Linked DNA regions of Homo sapiens: all the other regions are linked to region 2. The links are contacts of gene promoters, found by promoter capture Hi-C in human tissues and cell types (Jung and others, 2019). All regions are on one chromosome and are shown on one strand. The core of a region is centred on a gene start or on the middle of the fragment in contact, and the rest is flanking DNA. Distances in the headings are between cores, read along the strand shown. Region 1 overlaps ZNF516 (zinc finger protein 516). Region 2 holds the start of LINC00908 (long intergenic non-protein coding RNA 908). Region 3 overlaps ZNF516 (zinc finger protein 516).

The links. The method cuts DNA at HindIII sites, captures the fragments that hold promoters and counts their contacts. A contact is called where the count stands out against the background at its distance.
Region 1: a fragment that was not itself captured here is called in contact with the fragment with the promoter of LINC00908 in region 2 in 2 of the 25 tissues and cell types used here (lymphoblastoid cells and mesendoderm cells).
Region 3: a fragment that was not itself captured here is called in contact with the fragment with the promoter of LINC00908 in region 2 in 2 of the 25 tissues and cell types used here (lymphoblastoid cells and spleen).

The regions. Positions count from the first base shown.
Region 1 is chr18:76,444,701-76,448,914 of GRCh38, forward strand. All of the region lies in intron 2 of ZNF516 (zinc finger protein 516), which reads right to left. Among named protein-coding and RNA genes, the nearest start is that of ZNF516-AS1, 45 kb to the right of the region's middle. RefSeq lists enhancers at 1,398-1,976, 1,977-2,555, 2,556-3,133, 4,019-4,214. The HindIII fragment of the contact is 3,236 bases long and covers 1,287-4,214 here.
Region 2 is chr18:76,525,988-76,530,493 of GRCh38, forward strand. LINC00908 (long intergenic non-protein coding RNA 908) reads left to right here and starts at 2,668. Exons shown (of 3, transcript NR_015417.1): 1 at 2,668-2,976; 2 at 4,397-4,477. RefSeq lists enhancers at 2,410-3,050, 3,051-3,689, 3,187-3,266, 3,690-4,329. The HindIII fragment of the contact is 15,253 bases long and covers 1-4,506 here.
Region 3 is chr18:76,410,673-76,414,651 of GRCh38, forward strand. The region is part of intron 3 of ZNF516 (zinc finger protein 516); the gene reads right to left. Among named protein-coding and RNA genes, the nearest start is that of ZNF516-AS1, 79 kb to the right of the region's middle. RefSeq lists silencers at 75-174, 555-604 and enhancers at 365-444, 1,309-1,869. The HindIII fragment of the contact is 9,760 bases long and covers 1-3,979 here.

The DNA.
Region 1 (4,214 bases), core at 1,655-4,154, 81 kb before region 2:
GCTAAAAAATCAGTGTCGGTGTCAAGAGTGTCCCCATACCTCCCCCACGGGGGTCGGGGATTCTGAGCATTTTGTATTAATACTTCAACTCCCGAGGGCCCAGATAACAGCAAGACAGGAGCCTTCTGAAAAGACAGACCCCATGCTGTGCCCTCTCACAGGCAAATACAGCGCCAGGTAGAAACCTTATCAAGAATTATAGGCTTCACAATGTCTTTCCAGAAAGCCCCGCTTTGGAGGCGCCTAAGGAAACACGAGCAGCCTCAGCAGCAAATGAAAAGCAGCAACACAGAGGTTCTGCTCCTTCCTCCAGGAACGCACCCAGCAGAGCCATGCAACAGAGCGGGCATGAGAGAGATGCCCACCCAGAGGAGCCAAAACCCACTTGCTCCAATAAAAAACAACAATTAGCCAGGCATGATGGTGTGCACCTGTAGTCCCACCTACTCGGGAGGCTGAGGCAGGAGCATCGCTTGAACCCGGGAGAGGGAGGTTGCAGTGAGCTGAGATCATGCCACTGCACCCCAGCCTGGGTGACAGAGCAAGACTCCATCTCCAAAAAAAAAAAAACAACAACAACATTAAAACTTCCCCCAAAACTGGAGAAGTAAATAAGCTTACCAGGAAGATTTCTTAATGACCTTTTACTCCAAGCTAATTTAAATGATTTTGGTCTTGGCACTCATTGTGGATGGCTGTGTAATGATTTATGATGATTTTACAAGGCAAGTGATTCACAGGAAAGCCTCGTCCTTCCCCAGGCCCCAGTTCACTCCCCCACAAAAATGCTGAATCTGATATTCAAAGTATGAATGAAACACACTATTTATATCTAACTTAGTGACTGGATGTGGTATAAAAACCTTACAAGTGCGAACAATCATATAGAAAATACGTTTACAGGGAAGAAAAGAAAAACAACTAAAATCCTGGAAATTGGTGGCTCTGAAATAATTGTACAGACTCCCCTGGACCTCCAACGTTTGTCTATAAAGGATGTTAAATGTCAAGACACTTCTCCAGTTCGAGAGAATTCAACTGCCAGAAGCCAGCTCCAGAGACAGGATTCACCCAGGAGGAGCCCAGGCCTGGTCAGGGCCGTTAGAGACAGCCCTCGAGTGCAGCATGAAGCAAAAGGAGATTTGTTCTGTGCAAAGACTCACACCAATCACCAAAACCCTGTGCTCTAGGGCTATCAGCTCCTGCCTTCTTTCAGAGCAGCAGCTCCTGGGGTCTGCGCCCAGAGAAGCGGCCTCTGTGCCAGCCAGCTGTGTGCCAGCAGCTGTGCACCCGTCAGCGTGCAGGTCACAGGGTCATGGCCAACACAGGGCATTCAGCACAAAGTGCACACGTGCAGTTGGGAACCCTGGTCCCAGCCCTCATGCTCCCAGTCACCAGCCACATGCCTTTCTAGGCGTGTCCTTCACGCCCTCAACTCGTCCCCTCCTCTGTCAGGCACAGAGAAACAATAAGAAGAAGCCACATGTCACCGAAGCCCCTTGCAAATGCCTCCTTCTATAAAATCCAGTGACCCCCTCAGAGCCCACAGCATCCAGACCCCAGGGACATCCAGGCAAACACACACCTGGCACTTAGGCCCCTCTTCTCATCCCAGGCAGCTTCCTACCCTGCAGGTACCCTTCCAGGAGTGCTGGGGAAATACAGACACTCTCGCTCGTGGATCACCAGAGCCCCCAAATACAGCCCCATCTAGCCCAGCTCAGCAGCACAGCCTCGGCATCCTGGGCCATGACCACGGCTGAGCGGAAGATGGCACAGTATCAAGGAGCATGGCCCTTGTACATCTGAAAGGCCTTTGTGCCAGCATCGGACCCATCCAATCCTTGCACAGCCTTGACTCCCCGGTACCCCCGCCCTAGCTAGAGCCTGAACCCTGGCCCTCAGGCACCCGGTGACTAGAGAATGCAGTCTCCATTTCCTTAAACTCACTTAAAAGCTTTCCCCGAAACTTGCAGAGCCCTGCAATTTACAGGCAGACGTTCAAGGAGCAGCATCCACGATGCTCTGCGATCAACAAAGCAAGCTCTTCCTTCTTTCCTATTTCCTGCTCACTACCTCTCCGCCTGTCCCATCTTTCAAAAATAAGACCTGCTGTAAATCCCTGTGAGAACTGCACAGGATGTGTTTTTAGACTTAAGAACATTGTGAAGGGAAAGATACATAAATGTAGAAATAGAAAAAGTGCTGAGACAGTAACCAAGTTAAGCCCAAACCGCCATTATCTGAAGGACACGTGAGCAAAGCTGCCTCTGCCCAGGGGTTGATTAAGTGATCCCCTCCTGATGTCCACAGTTGACTAGCAAAGTTTCTCAAACCTTAAAGAAACAGTCAAAAATTAATTCCCTGCAACGAACTCTCCTAAGGGGTTACTCAGTGGCCAAATCAAAAGATCTCTGTAATCATTCTTTTTAGCTGCAGGCAAAAATTGCTATTTAAGACAAGGGCATCCCTTCCAAAAAAAGAACAAGAATGCTGTCCTCAGAGCTTCCAACTTCAAAACACGCCATGGGCGGCCGCCCCAATTAGGAGGATTATTGGGACGTCAGCGGCCCTGCTGGCACGACGGGCTGTGCTTTAAATCCCGCCAACCCCTGTAAGCCAGGAGGGTTTCGATGGGATGCCTCCTCCACCTTTATCCTGGTCCCTAGTGGGGCGTGCCTCACGTAGGAGCAGCGCCGTGTGATAAAGTGCTACCTACCTCAGTTCCAGCCGCAGACATTTCCGTCCTGGGCTGCTCTATTCCACTTTCTCAAACGCACGCCAAATACAAGTTGTTCCAACTCTCCCTGTAACACACGGGCCTGGAGATAACCAGCCTTATAAAACTTGTGCATGTGAGCCTGCCACCCAAACCACAGGGAATACGGAAAGGTTCTGCAACAACACAGATGCTCAGAGCCAAGGTGGAGGGTACAGCATGTGTCCAGCTGACATGCAATATGGCGCCCACGCACCTCGGACGGCAGGGACCCATCTGAACACATGGTGTGCCTGTGTGTTCAATCACAGATTTGTTGTTCTGGTAAGATGTATTACAAACTTTTTCCAAGGCTGGAACTGGGAACATGCCAGACAAAACCGTAATTTAATTGTTTAGGCATAAATATGACTTGCTGACTAGGGTTTTAAAGCAGATTTCCAATGGATCTCTTGCTGTATGTGAGTGTGTGTGAGTGTGTGTGTATGTGTGTGTGTTTCTCCAGAGATGTAATCAACAGTTCAAGGCCACTTTTTTTAAATGCCTTATATAATTTTTGAAATAAATTTTTTTATTTCATTTTGAAAAACTTAGGTAACAATCACATTTATTAAAAAACAGGAAGTAAAATGTTTGAAAAAACTGTTTACTCATAACATAAAAATACATTGTAACGGAGAAGGGGAGAGTCTGAAGAAAGGACAAAATATAAAGTAGAAAATATGTAGCTACATTTTAAAACTAACCATGTAAACATCAAAAACATCTAAAGACATATATATTAAGGCTGCTGCCATACCTTTGGATATTTTTCTTTTTCTTTTCCTTGTCTTTCTTTTTTTGCCTATATCATACAATTGAAATTAAATGACTTTCTCCAGATTACTTACATTTGCTAAATTTGGGATACATTTACTCTGTAGGCCAGTATTTCAACTAATCAATCCCTTCTGTAAGTGAGGAAGAACTGCCTTTTTGACCTAATAATACAGAGCAGAAAAGTCACTTCCTGACACACGCCCCGGTAAGCTGCTGAAACACTTCCCGGTGTGAAGAAATGTGTACCCAGGGTTAACCCCACTGACACTACAGAAACTTCTTTAGAAACAAGCACTGCAAAGCCTTGATACAACACATACAGCCAGAAAGAAAACCATGTTCACAAAGCCAGGGGGTATGTACAGCGCAAACATAGCGGAAGCAGTCTCTGTCCACATCCCCGAGGAACTTCAGGTGACGGCAGGCTCCTTAGAGGTGTTCCAGTCCTAGGGCGGTGCGGTCAGGGGCTAACGAGGGTATCCCTGCAACAAGCACTTCCTGAGCACCTACCAAGTGCAAGGCCTCGTATCAGGAGCCAGAGAATCTAAGATGACTCAAAAAAAGCACCCGGCTTCAAGGAACTCAAAGTCAGACAGGGAAGCATACTATTATCAAAGCGTGCTGGCAGCGCACCAGTAAGACAAGGAGAAGTTTCCAGAAGGCCAGGAGGGAAGCG
Region 2 (4,506 bases), core at 1,418-3,917:
GCACTTTAGACATTTCTGGTTTCACTCCTCAGCTACATGTTTTGTTATTAAGAGCATTTGTTTCATACCGTTAACAATACAGCACTAGTTTGACAAATTGTGGTATGGGGGTGTGAGTGCCTGATGGAGAAAGAGGCTTTGTCTTTTGGGGGGCCCATTAGTGAAACAACTAATAAGCCTATAGCAAAACTGATATGATGGGAAATGACTTCTATTCAGTTAACTCGATTATTAGTGCTAATTGGGGCCAGGTGAAGCATGGATAATTGAAATTCACAGATAATCCAAAAACCTCTATTTAACCAATAACTTCAAACTTCTTCCCCATCAAACCAATTACCGGAGGAGCTAACAAATAGAAAAAATGGATTAAATTGAATTTCACTTCCCCCAAAGATTACCACTATGATGTCTTTTTTATTGATTAATTCAGAGCAAGAGCCAAAGATTAACTATATTTTAGAGACTAAATTACAGATAGTCCCCAACAATTAAAAAGAAAAAGATTATATTCCAACGGTTTGTTTATAAATCAGTTACTTCAGTTACTTGAAGCTCAGAATGCTTTTTCTCATAGAACAAAGCGTCGATTGGGGTAGGGTACCAAGGTAGCACACAGAGGTCAGCCAGTAACCCAATGACACTGGAAATATATTTAAGATTCTCAGCTCCTTAGTCAAGTTCTTTTGAATCCTAAATCCTTACCCTCCCACCCCTAAATCTCTCTGAGCCTTCAATCTATTTTTTTAACTGAAGTAAAACTCACATAGCCTAAAATCAAAAGTGTACAACTCAGTGGCATTTAGTGTAGTCACGGTGTTATGCCACCATCACCTCCAGTTTCAAAACACTGTCCTCATGCAGAAAGGAAAGCCCCCTTGGACCCATTAGCAATCATTCCCCATCCCCGACTCCTTCAGACCCTGGCGACCTCGGATCTGCTTTCTGTCTCTATGGATTTGCCTCTTCTGGACATTTCATACAACTGGGCTCATAACAATCTGTGGTATTTTGTGCCTGACGTCCTCCACTCAGCATAAGGCTTTTAAGGTTCATCCACGTTGTGGCATGTGCCAGTGTTTCACTCCTTCTCATGAGTGAATAATATTCCATCGTGGGGATACAGCACACTTTACTTATCCATTCCCCCTCTTGGAGGGGTGCTTGAGTTGTTTCCATTTTGTGGCTACTGCGAATGCTGCTGCTATTAAACCTGATTTTGACCCTGTGGTGGCATAAGGAGCTCATCAGGGTGAACTGGAAGGGGTGTGCCCCACTGCTGGTGTCTGGTCAAGCAAACCCTCACCCCTTGAGAGAGGAGTCAGTGGGAGACACCACTCAAGTCTCCATAATGAGGGACAATTTCAGGCTGGGACAACATGGTGGAGGAAGGACCTCTTCAGAGAGGAAGTGCACGTAAGGGGCAAGGACCCTAGAAAGACCTGTGGGACCTGTGGAGAGTATGCACGTCCTTCAGATTGAGGCTGGTTTGAGGCCGGGTGCCATGGCTCACGCCTGTAATCCCAGCACTTTGGGAGACCAAGGCAGGCGGATCACCTGAGGTCAGGAGTTCGAGACCAGCCTGGCTGACAAGGTGAAACCCCGTCTCTACTAAAAATACAAAAATTAGCCGGGCGCGGGGGCACACACCAAAAAAAAAAAAAAACAAACCTGGGCTGAGTGCAGAAATCAGTCCAATCCAGGGAGAAATCTGGCAAATACTCTTGGCCAGCTCCTGTTTTTCTGAAAACATAGGTGCCAGAAGAGCATCCGGTAGCAGCTGCCAAGTTCAATACTAGGACTCCACTCCACAGACAATTCTGTCACCCCATTGTGGGTGTCCTGGATGCCCAGAAAACCCACATCTCTTGATAAAGTCCTCCTGTGGTAAGTCTGCAACCCCTCTGCACCCAGCCCCTCTGCTGACACCCCCTCTGCACCCTGCATCTTTGCCAAGTGGGGAGAGATGCATTCCAGAACTCCAGTGGCAGGATCTGCCCTTGCCGGGATCATGCAGACTTGGCATTTTCCAGTACCTACTGTTGCTTGAGGTTTCTTATAATAGAGCAGGATGAGCAACACGACTTCTCGTTTTGTAATTTGGCACATATGTATATGTTTTATACATACATGCTATGTGTCTATATGTACACACGGCAATACATACGTGTATATGTATACGTATATATGTATGTCAACGAATACCTAAATATATAATCATATGAAACAAACTGTTTATCCCTGTTCCATAAACTTCATATCAATTCAATAAATAAAATTTATTCAAAATCCAATCATCCCAACACATTAACATTTAATTTTTCCCTATTTTCTGTCTGTGTTTGTCATTGAATATTAAAAGTTTTGCTTTTTTTTACTATTTCACCTCTTTTCTAGGTAGTCCATAATTTTAAAACAATATATATGGCACCACTTGGTCTTCACAGCTTTCAAGACAGGACTGTCAAGGCAAGGACACTCCTTAGGGGACCCTGTCCCATAAAGTCAAATTATGCGGGATGAGTCAGTGACGCAGGAGCTAAAAACAGTGTCCCTTTAAAAATGTGCATGCCTTTGAAATGGAATAAGTAAAGTACTTGCAGATGCAAATGGTTTCAAGTTTCACTGGAGACCCAGCGAAAGCGGCTGTTCTCAAAGTTGCCAGGCAGTGTGGAAACGCCCACTGAGGGGCACACAGTGAGGCGGCCACTGGCTCTGTGTCCTTGGGGAAGCCCCTTCTGCGGTCCCCTCCATTGTCTGCGTGACAAAGTGGACGTAGAACTCCCCCATTTCCTGCCCAGGGCGGGTGAGGACCCTGCACACACACGGTGTGTTTGTGAGCTGTGCAGAGTGGGGTCTCCCTGGCAATGGCCACAGCCTCCAGGGGCGCTGACACCTCCCGTCTAACTGGTAGACAGTTTCTGCCTCTTCTTGTTTGGGGATTGGAGAGGGAAGTGCGTCTGGATGACTACTAAGGTAAATATGGAATGGGCACCGCGTCTTCCCTTTCTTCTCTCCCTTCCCACGCACCTGCCTGGCTCCCCGGCTCTCCCGCCCTGGCCAGAGTCAATGTGAGCTGCAAAGTCCATATGTGAACAGCTGTGGGCAAGTCGTGCAACAGTGCTCATGGGACTTACTACGCATCTAAGCCGCTGAACTTCAGCTGGACCCCAAATGGCCTTGGTCACGTTTTGTTTCTGTTTTGTCATTTCCGGCTGCATCTCCCACAGTCTCAGCCCTGCGCTCCTTGCTCTGCCTTCTCCTCCCCACAGCTTCTTTGCAGATAACATCCTGGCCGTATTATGCAACTGAACCCATATTATCCGGGGGAAACTTACCCTCCTCTGCTCTCTAAATCTTCCTTTTCCTTCTGGTTTTGGAGAAAGAGGAGCTCCTTTCCATCAATCAGGTCAACCTCTTCCTGTTTCCTTTCTTCATTCTTCGTTATTTTCCACTCCTGAGTTTTGGACTCTTCTCTCGGTCAATAAGTATATCCGAATTCTTCCAGCTGTAAAACCAACAAATGAAAGGCCTCGTGTACCAAGGCTGCCCCCGCGTGCGGCCCCCCGGGCTGTGTGGCCTTGGCCTGGAACACAGCCCCGCTGCCACCTTCCTGCACTCCGTGGGGGAGATGGGCGGTGCACACTACCCAGAAGTGGAATGTGCATTTCACAGAAAATGACCAATTTAAGCAGAAAATTAAAGCAGAAAACGGGGTGAGAACGGCAGACGCGTGTGTGGGCACCGCAGCGTACACGCTTAGGATCCCGAGTTTATTTTTCTAGGGCCCGTGTGTTGGTGCGCATGCGCGTGCGCCCCCACCACCTGAAATCTTGGTAGTGCCTGTTAACCCGGCAGTAGACCCATGGGTGAATTTACTCTCTTCTCTGTGTCTTTCTGTATTTTCCATGCTTTCTGTGACGAACAACATCATACATACCGCTACTTCTTTTTTTGGGGGGACGGAGTCTCGCTCTGTCGCCCAGGCTGGAGTGCAGTGGCGCGATCTCGGCTCACTGCAAGCTCCGCCTCCCGGGTTCACGCCATTCTCCTGCCTCAACCTCCCAAGTAGCTGGGACTACAGGCGTCCGCCACTACGCCTGGGTAATTTTTTGTATTTTTAGTAGAGACGGGGTTTCACCGCGTTACCCAGGATAGTCTCGATCTCCTGACCTCGTGATCCGCCCACCTCGGCCTCCCAAAGTGTTGGGATTACAGGCGTGAGCCACCGCGCCCGGCCACATATCACTTCTTCTATTGTGCATTCACTGCACACCAAGCACTTCTATTGGGCGTTCACTACACACCAAGCCTAAGTAAGGGCTTTCTGTGCACGCTCTCATTTCATGCTTATGACACTCTGAGAATTAAGACCATTTTGGCCCCTGTCTTACAGATGAGGAGGCTGAGGCCTAGTGCTCCTAGCGGGCTTGGTCAAGAGCAGGAGGCGGAGGTGGTGGAAGGCTGTTTCCCTGCGGTGAGTGCTCACACGGTTGGCGGTGATTT
Region 3 (3,979 bases), core at 1,133-3,632, 120 kb before region 2:
TTTGGGAATCAAAGAAAATAAACCATTCACTTGTGGGAGACTTGAGAGTCGGCTGGAGGAGAAAAAGAGAAATTTTACCACAGGATTCTTCCTCACCTCCTAGTGTTCACCATGCAGCCACAACACGCAACACACATCCAATCAGCAGCAATCTCCCGGGGGAGTTTTTCAAGATCTCAGGTTATAGCCAATTAAACACATCAAAGAGCAAACACCTACACACTCAACTTTCTAAATGAATACACAACAGTGTGCTCAGTCTGCCTTTCAATATATCAATGAGAAGAACTTGCATGTCCTAAAAGCAGATAAAACTTTCAGATTAAAGAAATAAAAGACCAGCTAGAATTCTAACACAGCTTTGCTGCTATGAAATGCTTCCATTTTCAGAAGCTGTGTTCTTAAGACAACTGAAAAGCACATGGAATCCCTGAGGTCAGGACTGTCTAACAGGTCCTCCTCCGGGATGGAAACGGTCTCTAAATCTGCCCTGTTCAACACGTAGCCTCTCATGGCCAGGGGCTACTCACGAAGGACTGTGCAGCCTTGAGTGTCACAATCCTGTCATTCTGGATGAAATGGGTGTCGTGTACCTTTCGCAATACCCCAGAGACAAAATGCCTCACTGCACCCCAGCTACACACAGTGCAGATTCTACATCAACAGCCTCCAAAATACACTCAGTTCCACTGAACATCCTGCACTGGAGACAAGAACATTTCCAAGCATTTCAGCAAGTCGCGGCTTCAACAAAAATATTTCTTAACCACAGGTAATTCTAAGGTTGGATTCTTCACTTAGGATCACTGACATCAGAGTTAATAGACAAGACACTATTCCATGGCATTCAGAGGAGAGCAGCAAAGGTGGGGAACAAAGCAAAATTAAAACTATAAAATACTTAAAAGTTACAAAATACGCCAAAAGCATGGAAGGATGTGTTGAAAACACCACAAAAAACTTCTGAAACACAAAAGCCCAAAGCATCAAACTCAACAAGTCCTAAAATTACCGCTTGACTACGGAGAGGGCTCAGAAGGCTCCAAAGACCTGAAACCTCATCTTGACCTTCCTTTTTCATCCACAAAATGAGGAGGTGGATGGGACAGTCTCTGCCAGGAGCCCTCTGCACTCAGGCAGTGGGGAGACAGTGCCTGAAAACGTGTACCACCCCTCCAGCATAAAGCAGTTTTTAAAATATTTAAAATACCACTTTTTATTATCACATACTTAGATAAGAAAACTAGCAAAGCACATAGGTCATCTTAACCTTAAAATACTCTTAAAATAAAAACATCTGAACATTCAAAGGAGTCAACCCGAGATGATCCCAGATCATAAAACGTATCCTCTCCAAGACCGTGTGGGTGTGTATTCCAGATTTTTTAATGACCTCGGCAAAATGCAAGAGCAGCCCAGAGACCACCATGTAGATGGTAAATAGTGGCATTGTTGCAGCTGAATGTCAAAAACTATTTTCAGAGGAAGCGGCACTAATGATTCACAGCTCCCTGATGAGGCTGCATTCCTAAGTCCGGGACCAAGACCAGCGAAGGTCGCCGTGCTGACTGCTGCTGCACTTCCAGGGGAGAACACCCTGGCGATGCTCTCCTTCCTCACTGGGGACAGAGGGGACGTACACGGCACCCAAAGGGACGGCCTGAAACAGGAAAACCTGAAAACAGCCCTGACTCTGGGTGGGCCACTCCAGCCCAAGGCTCTCCTCCCCTCCTGGGAGGGCCATTCCTACTCTTAGCTTAGTCCTACTGCACACAGGCGTGACCCCAAACACTGCCTCCACTCACCTGGGGACCGACGGGAGCCCACACACTCTACGAACCCACCTGGCGATCAGCAGGGCCAGCCTTAGGAAGACAATGGCCATGGAGACTGACCTCATTTCTTCCTCAAGGACTGCAATGCACTGGGTAATAGAGGAAGGGAGGGGAGGCCGGAGGATAAGGACACACCGTGCCTCCTGATGTGGAAGCAGGAAGTCAAGTCGTTGCCAAGATGTGGCCCCACGTGACAAAGTGACCAACAGCAACTGAGGCAGCTCCTGGACTCTTTTCCTCTCAAGATTTTGTCTGGACACAGTTTTGGGCAACCAGGGATTCCATGGTCCCACTGAGTCCTCTCCTCTCCCAAAGAACTCCGGGTCTTCTTTCTAGTCTTTCTTCCCTCAATGTCCCGGGACACCGGGCTGAGTGTGGCATCCTCCCTCCACCTCGCCCACCTCTGAGTCCCGCCATAACCTACCCGGAACCTACCAGAACCTAGCATCACTGCACGCCACCGCGGCCCACAGTGAGCCCTGCTCAGAGGCCCACTTCTCCTTAGACATGAGACACTGCACCTGCCAAGGTAATGCTGAAACCAAGGCCTCTGTGAGGAAGCGGGAAGCGGAGGCAGAAACGAAGTGCTATTATTTGGAAACAGGACGTACTGCTGAAAATGCCATACGGTTTATTCCCATTTTTTAAAAAAGATTTTCTGTGGCTTTAAAGTTGACCACACTCTCTCTCTCCTTAGTGACTAATTCAATCCTGCAAACCTTGCCAAAACAATAAAAATGTAGTGGAAGAACTTTAAGTAGAATTTAGCAGTTAAATTCTACTACTACATGACTTTAAAATTATATATAAATTACACATATCTAAAATCCTTCTCTGGCGGACGCCAGGCTCCTAGGCAGCAGGGAGAGGGTATCGTTCATCTTGCCTAGCAGCACCACACCCAACAGACGTCTGTTCAATCAATCAATCGATAGAAAGATGCTAGGACTAAGGAAGAGAAAAGGATCCAGGTTTCCCATGCAATCCCATTATCAATCAACCAACTACATTCACTTTATATGACTATATTAATAAGATAAAGTACATTTTTTGTTTCAAAAAAAAAATTATGTCATGACTGGTTCAATTTCATCCCCTCGAATACCTCAGCACACCTTAACGCCCACCCCCAAATATCTGGGCTGCCACGGTTTCCTCCCACCGGAACTGATTTTATGCTAAGATATATGTTTTCTTCATCTAACCCACTTTGGGCAGGGGTTCAATGTGACTGTATAAAACTAAAATTGAAACAGGTCTTTAAATGATGACGTAAAAGCCAATAATATTGGTGAACAAGAAAAATCTTCACGAAACCTCATGAACAAAAATGTCCCAAGTCTTCACACAGTTCTTATGTATTCAAGACTAGTGAACATCTGCTTATTTAAAAGGTTTCGTTAAATGTTTTTTCAAACTGATACAATATTTAAGCAGTTTGTCTGATTACTAAACAGTTCAAGAAATTTCATGTCACTTTTTTTAAACAAACATTGGAACAAAAAGTTTTATTCTTGAGAAATTCTTAGGCCATCAAAACATTATCTTTTACCCTTACTCAAAAACTTCACTTTAAAACTGTATTTCTTACAGAATTTTAAAGACTAACATGTACATATATAGATTCCTATGTATTTACATTAAATTAGTGAAATCCTTCATTGTTGTTTGGCTTTCAGCATTACCAATTGTTTACAATCCAGTTGTTTAAAAAAGCCTACTTATTCTGAAACAAGCCATTTTCCTACTTTCTTGAACAGCATACTAGCATATCCTGAAGTACGATTTCACTGAAAAATAATCTTATTTAAAGTTGGGATACCAGTTCCACGTGTTATTTTCCTCAGCTGGGTTTCAGTTTATTTTAAGGGTTTTCATCCCTAAAATGTAATATAATGTCTTACAATTTAGCTGATCACAGAACAAATGCCCTCTGTCACTATGTATACCAGCTGGCAATACAGGCAATGCTGAATGTACACAGTTTTCGTGTCTCTGGTGATTTTCAAGAGTTACACAGTAAACCACAAACTGCTATTTGAATCTACATACTACTGTCGATCAAAATTCTCTTTTCAGGTTTTCTTTAACTTTCTTCACCCGAAGAAGGTTACCTACTTCATTAGCACTGTAGTTGTTTAAAG